Linked DNA regions of Homo sapiens: region 1 is linked to region 2. Evidence: promoter capture Hi-C in human tissues and cell types (Jung and others, 2019). All regions are on one chromosome and are shown on one strand. Each heading gives the region's core, a stretch centred on a gene start or on the middle of the fragment in contact. The rest is flanking DNA. Distances are from core to core; before and after follow the strand shown. Region 1 overlaps LOC105371143 (a long non-coding RNA gene). Region 2 holds the start of COG7 (component of oligomeric golgi complex 7).

Region 1 (5,736 bases), core at 3,047-5,546, 1.0 Mb before region 2:
TGGCTCATTGCAACCTCTGCCTCCCAGGTTCAAAGGATTCTGGTGCCTCAGCTCCTGAGTAGGGATTACAGGCACCCACCACCATGCCCAGCTAATTTTTCTATTTTTAGTAGAGAAGGGGTCTCATTATGTAGCCCAGGTTGGTCTCCTGGACTTAAGCAATCCTTTTACCCCAGCTTCCCAAAATGCTAGGATTTCAGGAGTGAGCCACTGTGCCTGGCCAAGGCTAGGCTCTTATCTCCCAGCCTATGTGACCTTCTGATGGTGTCACAGGTGAGGGGGGCATGGTACATGGCGGCTTGATTTTCACCAAGCACTCAACTTGGTTCCCAGTCCAACTCTGTTTCTGCCCTGGGGACCCTTCTTGATATTGGAAACGGATAAAGCCTGTGGGTTTTTGTTAAATTTATTTTTCCCCACACAACACTGATGTATCAAGGGGGTTTTACCCAGTCTGGATTATGACTTTGTCTTTGACTTTTGATTTTAAAAACTAAGCATTTGTTTCTATTGTTCTCTGGTTTTATGGTGACAACTTTCTCCCTAAGGCAATGAGTAGGTGACTCATGTTGCGTTGCCTAGAGGACGGGGTGGGGAAGGAGTGAGCGGGAAAGGGCGTCAGAGTACCGAGCATGATTCCACTTATAGGAGGGATTTAAAATAGTCAAATGCACGGAATCAAAGAGTGGAATGGTGGTTGCTAGGGACTGGGGGAGGGCAAAATGGGGAGTTACTAATCAATGGGCAGAAAGCTCCAGTCAAGCAAGATGAATAAGCTCTAGAAATCTGCCGTATGACATTTACCTATAGTCAGCAGGAATGTATTGGACACTTAAAAAATCTGTTAAGAGAGGAGATCTCATGTTGTGTTCTTTTTTCTTTTTTTTTTTTTTTAAGAGATGGGGGTCTTGCTATGCTGCCCAGGCTAGTCTTGAGCTCCTGGCCTCATGCGATCTTCTGCCTTGGCCTCCCAAAGTGCTGAAATTACAGGTGTGAGCCATTGCACCTGGCCCCTAGTGTTCTTATCACAATTAAAAAATAAAAAAAGATGGCCAGGCATGGTGGTTTGCACCTGTAATCCCAGTGCTTTGGGAGGCTGAGGTTGGGGGGATTGCTTGAGGTCAGGAGTTTGAGACCAGCCTGGGCAACACAGTGAGACCCAGTCTATATTTTAAAAAAGAGAGAGAAAGATGGACTATATCACATCTGTTTCTTTGCATCCCATTTTTCATCTCCTCCACCTTCACTTTGTTTTACTTCTTGTCAGCCTCAAGTCTTGGGGATGGGGTTGAAGATTCTGTGGCTAGCCCAGGTCTGCCTTTCTGGGATACACTGCCTGTCCAGGGAAGTGCTGCCCAAGAGAAATGTCATCTGACCCACACATGTAATTTTAAACTTTCTGCTAGCCACATTAGAAAGGTAAAGAGAGGCCGGCGTGGTGGGACATGCCTGTAATCTCAGCACTTTGGGATGCCAAGGTGGGAGATTGCTTGAGCCGTTTAAGATGAGCCTAGGCAAAATGGTGAGACCCTGTCTCCACAAAAATAAATAAATAGCTGGGCATGGTGGCTCAAGCCCGTAATCCTAGCACTTTGGGAGGTGGAGGTGGGCAGATTGCCTGAGCTCAGGAGTTCAAGACCCACCTGGCCAACATGGTGAAAGCCCATCTCTACTAAAAAAATATAAAAATTAGCCGGGGGTGGTGGCGTACATCTGTAGTCCCAGCTATTTGGGAGGCTGAGGCAGGAGAATCGCTTGAACCTAGGAGGCAGAGGCTACAGTGAGCCGAGATCGTGCCACTGCACTCCAGCCTGGGTGACAGAGTGAGACTCTGTCTCAATAAATAAATAAATATGAGGCCAGGCACGGTGGCTCACGCCTGTGATCCTAGCACTTTGGGAGGCCGAGGAGGGCAGATTACTTGAGGCCAGAATTTTGAGAGCAGCCTGGAAAACATAGCAAAACCTGTCTCTACAAAAAATTAAAAAATTTTGAGACTCCGTCTCAAAAAAAAAAAAAAATTAGCTGACTGAGGTGGGAGGATGGATTCAGCCCAGGAGGCTGAGGCTGCAGTGAGATATGATCACACCACTGACTCCAACCAAAAAATAAAAGACACCCATGACAATTTTCTTTTTTTTTTTTCTTTTTTTTTTTTTGAGACGGAGTCTCGCTTTATTGCCTAGGCTGCTGGAGTGCAGTGGCACAATCTCATCTCACTGCAACCTCCAACCCCCTACCACGGGTTCAAGTGATTCTCGTGTCTCAGCCTCCAGAGTAGCTGGGATTACAGGTGCCCCCCACCACGCCCAGCTAATTTTTGTATTTTCAATAAAGAGGAGGTTTTGCCATGTTGGCCAAGCTGTTCTCAAACTCCTGACCTCAAGTGATCCGCCTGCCTCGGCATCCCAAAGTTTTGGGATTACAGGCGTGAGCCACTGTACCCGGCTGACAATTTTCATAATGTTTTATTTAACCCAATATGACTAAATTACTGTTACTTCAGTGTGCTATTAATATAAAACATCGTTATTTTCTTTTTCCATACTAAAGTTTTTTAAAATACTGGGGTGTAATTTATACTAATGATCCCAACTTAATGCAGACTGACCACATTTCAAGTGCCCAATGGCCACATGTGCCCATGGATACTGCAATGGACAGTGGAGCTCTAGAGCTCTGAACCTCTGTGTTCTGGGGTGACCTCACTCCCGTGACTAATGTCAGAAGATGGCTGTAAGGCCCAGGGCTATTTGTGTCCAGCTCCAACTTAATCTCTCCTGGGGAAATGAGCTTTGTTCTCTTTTAGTGGAGAATCTGTCCTTGGTTTGCCCATTGTGGGATGTTTTCTAGAGCACAGATGCTAATGTTGTTCTAAAAAACTGGGGTTCTTGGCCAGGTGAGGTGGGTCACACCTGTAATCCCAGCACTTTGGGAGGTTGAGGTGGGTGGATCACTTGGTCAGGAGATCGAGACTATCCTGGCTAACACGGTGAAACCCCATCTCTACTAAAAATACAAAAAATTAGCCAGGTGTGGTGGTGGGCGCCTGTAGTCCTAGCTATTCAGGAGGCTGAGGCAGGAGAATGGCGTGAACCCGGGAGGCGGAGCTTGCAGTGAGCTGAGATCGCGTCACTGCACTCCAGCCTGGGCAACAGAGCGAGACTCCATCCCAAAGAACAAAACAAAACAAAACAAAACTGGGGTTCTTCATCAGGCAAGTAACAAAGACTCTTTATAGGGATGTAGGTTTGGATCAATAGGAGTTTTATTACTTGATACAAGTAAAGGAGAACATTGAGAGTATTCTCCAAAGCAGTGTCTTCCCAAGGGAAAGTGATAGGCGAGTTTTATGGGGTAATAGAGAAGGGAGAGGGTGCAGCATTGCGTGTAGTGGGGTCTCAGTTGTGCAGATGCGCTGAGCTATCATGCCAGCACATAGGTTGCATGTTAAGGTAATGAAGCTATAGCTCCTCTGGGGGTGGAGACTTTAGCATGGTAATGAGGAATGTTCACTTGGGTTCATCTGTAAGTTGTGGGAGTCTGCCAGGAGCTGGTTTTAACTGATTAGGTGACTGCATTCCATACAAGGTTTAGGAAGAAAAGGACTTCAGGGCAGGAGGCTATAAAACAGGCTGATTGCTCAAGTTCATTAAATTCTTGTAATCTCTGGAGACCCTCCCTATCTGCTTACACTAAGTAAACCTGACCTGCATGTTAGCATGGAGAGCAGAGGATGCTATGTATTCATTTAAAAATCATGTATTGAATATGTCATAAGCTCAAGATTCTGTTCTAACATGCAGTTCAGGCTCCTGGGGGATGGGACCAAAGCCTCAGTGTTTTTTTTTTTTTTTTTTTGAGACAGAGTCTCACTCTGTCACCCAGGCTGGAGTGCATTGGCACGATCTCAGCTCATTGCAACCTCTGCCTCCCAGGTTCAAGCAATTCTTGTGCCTCAGCCTCCTGAGTAGCTGGGATTACAAGCATGTGGCACCATGTCCAGCAATTTTTTTGTATTTTGGATTTCACCATCTTGGCCAGGCTGGTTTCGAACTCCTGGCCTCAGGTGATCCACCTGCCTCAGCCTCCCAAAGTGCTGGGATTACAGGTGTGAGCCACGTGCCGGACCTCAGTCTTTAGGATCAAAAGCGAAAGTCCCTGCCCTTGTGGAGCTTTCATTCCTTGGAGGGAAACAGGGAGGACAGGGAGTGCAGCTGGGGCTGAGGTGGTGTGCAAAGACCTCTCAGTAGTGATGTGACATTTGAATAAACACGAGAAGGAACTGAAGGATTGATAAGGGATGGGGAGGAAGCTGAGGAGTCAGTCTCCCTGGGTTCAGATCCTGGCTTCAGAGACTTCAGTTTTCAACCATGGCAGACTGGGAGGGACCAGATTTACTCTCTTGCTTTAAACAACTCAAAAACCCGATGACATATATGAAACAATAATTTCCGGACATTGAACCACAGATAGCACAATACAGAGATCCTGAAAGAAAGGAAATAGCTAAGTCTTTTGATGGCCACAGGTCTTGATGCAGAGAGGAGAAACACAACAGAATACGACAGTGTCCCTGCATTGAGAGTCTGGGGAGGCCAAGGCAAGGGAGTGAACCACACAGAAAGGATTTTGGAGCTGTTTAGAGCATTCCCCTCCATTTCTTAGCTGAGTACTGATCAGTACACGCCTGTGAAGAAACTCCCAGAGGCCAAGGAAAGACCACCAAGAAGGACCAGGTGGAGCTCACATAGGATCGGGAATTGTGTTCTTACTGACCAGAAAGGAAAGACCTCTCCATGAGTCCATTTTGCATTGCTCCAAAGGAATACCTGAGGCTAGGTAATTTATAAAGAAAAGAGGTTTATTTGGCTCAGGATTCTCAGGATTCTGTATAAGCAGCATGGCACCAGCCTCTGCTCAGCTTCTGGTGACAGGAAGCTTTCAGTTATGGCGGAAGGTAAAAAGGGAGTAGGCACATCACATGGTGAGAGAGGGAGCAAGAGAGAGAGGAGGAGATGCCAGGCCCCTTTAAACAACCAGCTTCTGCATGACCTAACAGAGTGAGAACTTTTTCATGGCCACGGGGAGTGCACCAAGCCATTTGTGAGGGATCTGCTCCCGTGACTCAAACACCTCCACTAGGCCCCACCTCCAACACTGGGGATTGCATTTCAGCATGAGATTTGGAGGAAACACATATCCAAACCATATCAGCCTCCTCATATATGGGACATTGAATGGAGTCCTGAGAAGGATATTGTCTCACTGGTGGCCAAATTAACTTTAGACTAGAGGCTGTTTTGGACCTGGCTAACAGTCTGAAAAGCAAGCCTTGAAAGTTTCATACTGTTTCGCATAACTTAAATGCATGCTAAAACAAAACTCCCAAATATTTATGGGAATATAAAAAATGTCGGCACTCAGCAATGTAGAATTCATAATGTTTGAAGTCCAGTAAAAAGTTACCAGGCATGCAAAGAAGCAGAAAAGTAGGACCCAATCGTGAAAAAAAAATCATCCAATAGAAACAGAACCAAAGATGTTACAGATGATAGAATTAGTAGATAAGGACATTAAAACAGCTATTAGAAATATGCTCTATACAGGGAATAGATGCACAGAAAGAGCAGAGACTCCTGAGGGAGGGGCTGGGCTTTCCAGGAGAGACATGGAGAGGGCTCCCCAGGCCTCAGAGCTGTCTTGATTCTAGCACCAACCACATGGACTCTTACA
Region 2 (5,907 bases), core at 1,000-3,499:
TTAACAAAATAAGTGCAAGACTTGTATTATACAATGAAAACTACAAAATATTGCTGAGAGAAATTAAAGAAGATCTAAATCAGATCTAAATCCCCAGGGGTGATTCCTACTAGGGAACACTTGGCACTGTGTGGACAGATTTTTGGTTGCCACAACTTGGAGAGGATGTTGCTCCTAATGGGTAGCGGCCAGGGATGCTGCGAAATATCTTACAATGCATAGGACAGCCCCCATAACTAAAAATTATCTGGGCTCAGTAGTGCCAAGGCTGAAAAATTCCCATCTAAATAAATGAAGAGGCGTTTCATGCTATGGATTGGAACAGTCAATATTGTCATGATGGCAATTCTCCTAAAATTAATCCAACAATTCAACAGTTCAACATAATCCCTGTCAAAATCCCAGCAGGATTTTTTTTTTTTTTGGGGGGGATGGAGTCTCGGTCTGTTGCCCAGGCTGGAGTGCAGTGGCGGATCTCGGTTCACTGCAACCTCTGCCTCCTAGGTTCAAGCGATTCTCCTGCCTCTGCCTCCTGAGTGGCTGGGATTACAGGCGCGTGCCACCATGCCCAGCTAATTTTTTTATTATTAGTAGAGATGGGGTTTGACCATGTTGGTCAGGCTGGTCTCAAACTCCTGACCTCATCATCTGCCTGCCTCGGCCTCCCAAAGTGCTGGGATTACAGGCGTGAGCCACTGTGTCCTGCCTAAATTTTTAACAAGAGCAAAGTAAGAGGACTTACACTATCAGATTGCTCCCCTCGTCTCCCCTCCCTGCATTGCTCCCCTCCTCTCTCCTTCCCTCCTCTCCCCTCCCCCCAAATAACTGGGACTCCTAGCAGAAGGGTTACCCCAGTTAAAACCTACTCAACCCAGAAGAATGAGACAAACCAAGGGAGATGCCAATGAAAAACGAGTGACTATCAGGCCTGGAGATGGCAGCCAGCCACTCATACCCCAATGGCAGGCCAACCTGGAAAACTGTCCCCTGTAGGGTTTCCAAGGATGACATCTTGTCCTCCCCCTTGGGTTGGTCCCACTCTTGAAACAACATAAAAACTTAGAACCTAAAGAATACCCTCATACCTTCCCCTACCTTTTCTTCTTTTCTTTTCGAGACAGGGTCTCGCTCTGTCACCCAGGCTGGAGTGCAGTGGCGTGATCACAGCTCACTGCAGCCTCGACCTCCTGGGCTCAGGCAATCCTCTCACCCCAGCCTCTCGAGTAGCTGAGACTACAGGTGTGCGCCACCACACTCAGCTAATTTTTAATTTTTTTGCAGAGACGGGGTCTTCCTATGTTGCCCAGGCTGAGAAATTGTTTGTGATTATGGGTTATGCACAGATTTCTCAGCCGCAACACCAAAAGCATGATCCATAAAAAAAGGTGATAAGGAACTTAACAAACTTTAAAAGGTCTGCACCTCAAAACACATCATTAAGAAAATAATTAGTTAGGCCAGGCGCGGTGACTCACGCCTGTGATCCCAACACTTTGGGAGGCCGAGGCAGGCGGATCACCTGAGGTTGGGAGTTTGAGGCCAGCCTGGCCAGCGTGGTGAAACCCCATCTCTACTAATAATACAAAAAGTAGCCGGGCGTGGTGGCACGCGCCTGTAATCCCAGCTACTCGGGAGGCTGAGGCAAGACACTCGCTTGAACCTGGGAGGCGGAGGTTGCAGTGAGCCGAGATCGCGTCACTTCGCTCCAACCTGGGCGACAGAGCAAGACTCCGTCTCAGAAAAAAATAAAGAAAGAAAGAAAAAGAAAGAAATAGCCGGGCGTGTTGTCGCGCGCCTGTAGTCCCAGCTACTCTGGAGGCTGAGGTGGGAGGATCGCTGGAGCCCAGAAATTTGAGGCTGCAGTGAGCTGAGATCGTTCAATTGCCCAGGAATTTGAGGCTGTAGTGAGCAGAGATCGTTCAATTGCACTCCATTGCTGCCCACTGCGCTCCACTGTTGCCCAGGCTGTCCTAGAACTCCTGGCCTCAAGCGATTCTCCCGCGTCAGCTTCCTAAAGAGCTGGGATTACAGGCGCGAGCCACCGCGTAAATGCGCTAATGTATGTCAGGGCTTTATAGTAAGCATATAGTTTAGTCCTCGGCAAATGTTAGCAGACATGGGATATTTGTCGGTGCCGGGAGCTCTCAGTCCGGGGCGTTTTCCCACACCCACCTCTGCTCAGCGCTCCGGACGCCTGCAGTCACTATGGTAACGGCCAACGACTTCCGGAAGAAGAACGGCGGGCGGCGAGGGTCATTCCCAGCCGCAAACTGAGTGCGCTGAGCGGGGAAGCGCAAAGGGGCAAGTTACCCGTCCTGGCGTTTCTGGGGTTCGCCTCGGAGGCTAGCCTCGGTGCTCTCGCAGGCTCGCTCGCTTCTGCATCCCCGTTGCCGCCCGGAGCCAACTCTTAAGTTCTGGACGCCAGGCCTGAGGCAGTTCCGCCATGGACTTCTCCAAGTTCCTGGCAGACGACTTCGACGTGAAGGAGTGGATCAATGCGGCCTTCAGGGCCGGCTCCAAGGAGGCGGCGTCCGGGAAGGCGGATGGCCACGCAGCCACCCTGGTGATGAAGCTGCAGCTGTTCATCCAAGAGGTGAACCACGCCGTGGAGGGTGAGCCGCTCGGGGCCCTGGCCGCGGGACCCTCCCCTGCTCTCGGCTGGGCAGAGGTCACCGAACTTGCGTGAGGCACTCAGGTGGGCGGGGCACGCATGGACAGCAAATACCCTCGGCAAAAGAGCAAGCCCCGAACTCCTGATCACGTCAGCGGGAGTCTCAGCTGGGTGCCGGGCTGTCTTGAACACTTGCTAATTTTGGGTGTTGTTTTTCCTCCTCTGGCTGGGCTATAAGTTTCCTTTTTCTTTTCTTTCTTTCTCTTTGTTTTTTCTTTTGAAACAGGGTCTCTCTACAGTGGCTCGATCATAGCTCACTGCAGCCTCGAACTCCTGCACTCAAGCGATCCTCTCGCCTCTCGAGTCGCTAGGACTACAGGCGCGAGCCACCGCGCCCCACAAATTCTGTTTAAAAAAAAAATTGTAGAGATGGGATCTCACTGTGTTGCCAGGCTGGTCTCAAATTCAAATTCCTGGGCATAATGGGTTTTCCAGTCTTGGCCTCCCAAAGTACTGTGATTATACCTGTGAGCCACCACATCTGGCCTGAAGTTTCCTTTTGGAACTTAAAAGAGTGGATCTTATTGCAGTAGCTCTTCTCTAAATAATTCAATAGCAGATCTCTGGGATTCCCTTTTTATTATTATCCATAGGCACTGGAAGACAAGATGGATCTTTTTAAATGCTAGAAGTTTTAACCAGTTCTTAACATGTCTTTGTTGAGGCACCTTCCAGAATATAAGATAAAACAACTCCAGTTTCTGTTATAGTGACTTGAATCTCAGAGTCAAGAGCCCAGTGTCAAAGAAAATTGGCTTTGACTTTTTGTAATCTAGGAGCACGAGTCTGTGAGGTGTTTATTCAAAGAGTTAAAGAGCCTGTTTTGTACCAAACAATAAACTGTAAAAAGAAAAAAAAAGTGAATTTTGAGAGTATGAAAGAATAGCCAACAGATCCATATATCTGGAAAAAACGTATTATAGTATAGGTATAAGAGAATGACACAGATCTAGAAAACATTGTTTTAGTGGATTTTATTTCAGCTGAGGAAGATAGGCTGGTCTCAGTGGAGACTTAAACCTTTTTTTTTTTTTTTTTTTTGAGACAGGGTCTCATTCCTCATTCTGCTGCCCAAGCTGGAATGCAGTGATACCATCATAGTTCACTGCAGCCTCAAACTCTGGGTTCAAGCAGTCCGCTCGCCTCAGCCTCCCAAGTAACTGGAACTATAGGCATGTGCCACCATGCCTGGCTAATTAAAAAAAAAAATTTTTTTTTAGAGACAAGGTCGCACTATGTTGCCCAGGTTGATCTCAAATTTCTGACCTCAAGTGATCCTCCCATCTTGGCTTCCCAAAGCCCTAGGATTACTGGTGTGAGCCACCACGCCTGGCCTAAACCATTTGTTGAGGATAAGTTAAATTATAAAAAATAACATGCACTGGCAACCATTTCATGTAACTCCTCAACTTGACTTTTATTCACCGTGTGTTGATTCACTGTGTGTTGATTCAGTACGTACTGCACACAAGTCTCTCTCCTAGGCTCAGATGGAAAGACCAAACAGACTGCTTCCACTGGGAGTGGATAGTCCAAGAGATGTTCCCATTTTTGTTTGTTTTTTTGTTTTTTTTGAGACGAAGTCTCGCTCTTTCCCCCTGGCTGGAGTGCAGTGGCGCCATCTCAGCTCACTGCAACCTCCCCCTTCTGAGTTCAAGTTATTCTCCTGCCTCTACCTCCTGAGTAGCTGGGATTACAGGTGCGTGCCCCACCCCTGGCTAATTTTTGTATTTTTAGTAGAGATGGGGTTTCATGATGTTGGCCAGGCTGATCTTGAACTCCTGACCTCAGGTGATCCACCCACCTCGGCCTCCCAAAGTGCTGGGATTACAGGCATGAGCCACTGTGCCCGGCCAGATGTGCCCATTGTTTAAGAAAAGGTAGGGAGGGGGCTCTATTTCACTGCAGATTGTTTTCTTTCTTTCTTTTTTTTTTTGAGACAGGGTCTCACTTTGTCACCCAGGCTACAGTGCAGTGGTGTGGTCAGTGCTCACTGCAGCTTCACCTCTCGGGCTCGAGGAATTCTCCTGCCCCAGCCTCCTGAATAACTGGGACCACAGGCTTGTGCCACCATGCCAGATGGCACAATTTTTTGATTTTTTGTAGAGATGGGGTCTCACTATGTTGTCCAGGCTGGTCTCAAACTCCTGAGCTCAGGCGATCCTCCAGCCTTTGCCTCCTAAAGTGCTGGGATTACAGGCGTGAGCCACCGCGCCCAGCCCTTATTCTTTATTGTACCTTGCATCTTTTACTAATTATTGAGCATCTACTATGCATGTGTCCAGAAATGGGCAGTGGGGAGGAAAAGTTTATCTTGCTCGAGCTTGCTGCCTTTGGGGAAGATAGAAACAGTAAATTACAATGACGGATGGCTTTACTCAGAATAGAATCTGGAGTTGTGAGAACTGTCAGGAGGGTGCAGTTACTTCTTGTTTAGGAGAATCATAAAGCACTTGCCCTGTGTTAGACCTTGAAGGAAAACTTTGTAGGGCAAAGAGGAAAGGACATTAATAATAATATAATAGCAAATTGGCTGGGCGCAGTGGCTCATGCCTGTAATCTCAGCACTTTTGGAAGGCTGAGGCGAGAGAATCACCTGAGGTCAGGAGTTCCAGACCAGCCTGGTCAACATGGTGAAACCCCATCTCTACTAAAAATACAAAATTAGAGGTGGGTGTGGTGACATGCGCTGTAGTCCCAGCTACTCAGGAGGCTGAGGCAGGAGAATCGCTTGAACCCAGGAGGCAGAAGTTGCAGTGAGCAGAGATCCCACCACTACACTCCAGCCTGGGTGACAGAGTGAGACTCTGTCTCAAAAATAATAATAATAATGATATAATAGCACATATATGAGGTTTGGTACATGTCAGACACTCTTTTTGGTGCTCTATATGTATTAACTAAGTGATTCTGAAACATGGGTTGCAATGCTTTCCTTGCCTCCCCTTATCCTTGTTCCTGCCCTCAGGAACAGGGACTATTTGGAAATTGGTGGGAGGTTTTTTTTTTTTTTTTGAGATGGAGTTTCAATCTTGTTGCCCAGGATGGAGTGCGATGGAGTGCAATGGCGTGATCGCGGCTCACTGCAACCTCCGCCTCTCGGGTTCAAGCAATTCTCCTGCCTCAGCCTCCCGAGTAGCTGGGTGTATAGGCATGCGCCACCATGCCTGGCTAATTTTGTATTTTTAGTAGAGATGGGTTCTACATGATGGTCAGGCTGGTCTCGAGCTCCCAAC

Evidence for each region. The method cuts DNA at HindIII sites, captures the fragments that hold promoters and counts their contacts. A contact is called where the count stands out against the background at its distance.
Region 1: a contact is called between a fragment that was not itself captured here and the fragment with the promoter of COG7 in region 2, in 1 of the 25 tissues and cell types used here (lymphoblastoid cells).

Annotation. Positions count from the first base shown.
Region 1 is chr16:24,488,909-24,494,644 of GRCh38, reverse strand. The region is part of intron 1 of LOC105371143 (a long non-coding RNA gene); the gene reads left to right. Among named protein-coding and RNA genes, the nearest start is that of RBBP6, 48 kb to the left of the region's middle. The HindIII fragment of the contact is 4,487 bases long and covers 2,053-5,736 here.
Region 2 is chr16:23,449,531-23,455,437 of GRCh38, reverse strand. COG7 (component of oligomeric golgi complex 7) reads left to right here and starts at 2,249. Exons shown (of 17, transcript NM_153603.4): 1 at 2,249-2,612. The coding sequence starts at 2,444. LOC124903667 (a long non-coding RNA gene) reads right to left here and starts at 2,695. Exons shown (of 2, transcript XR_007065030.1): 1 at 2,173-2,695. RefSeq lists enhancers at 1,920-1,969, 2,260-2,589. The HindIII fragment of the contact is 22,477 bases long and covers 1-5,907 here.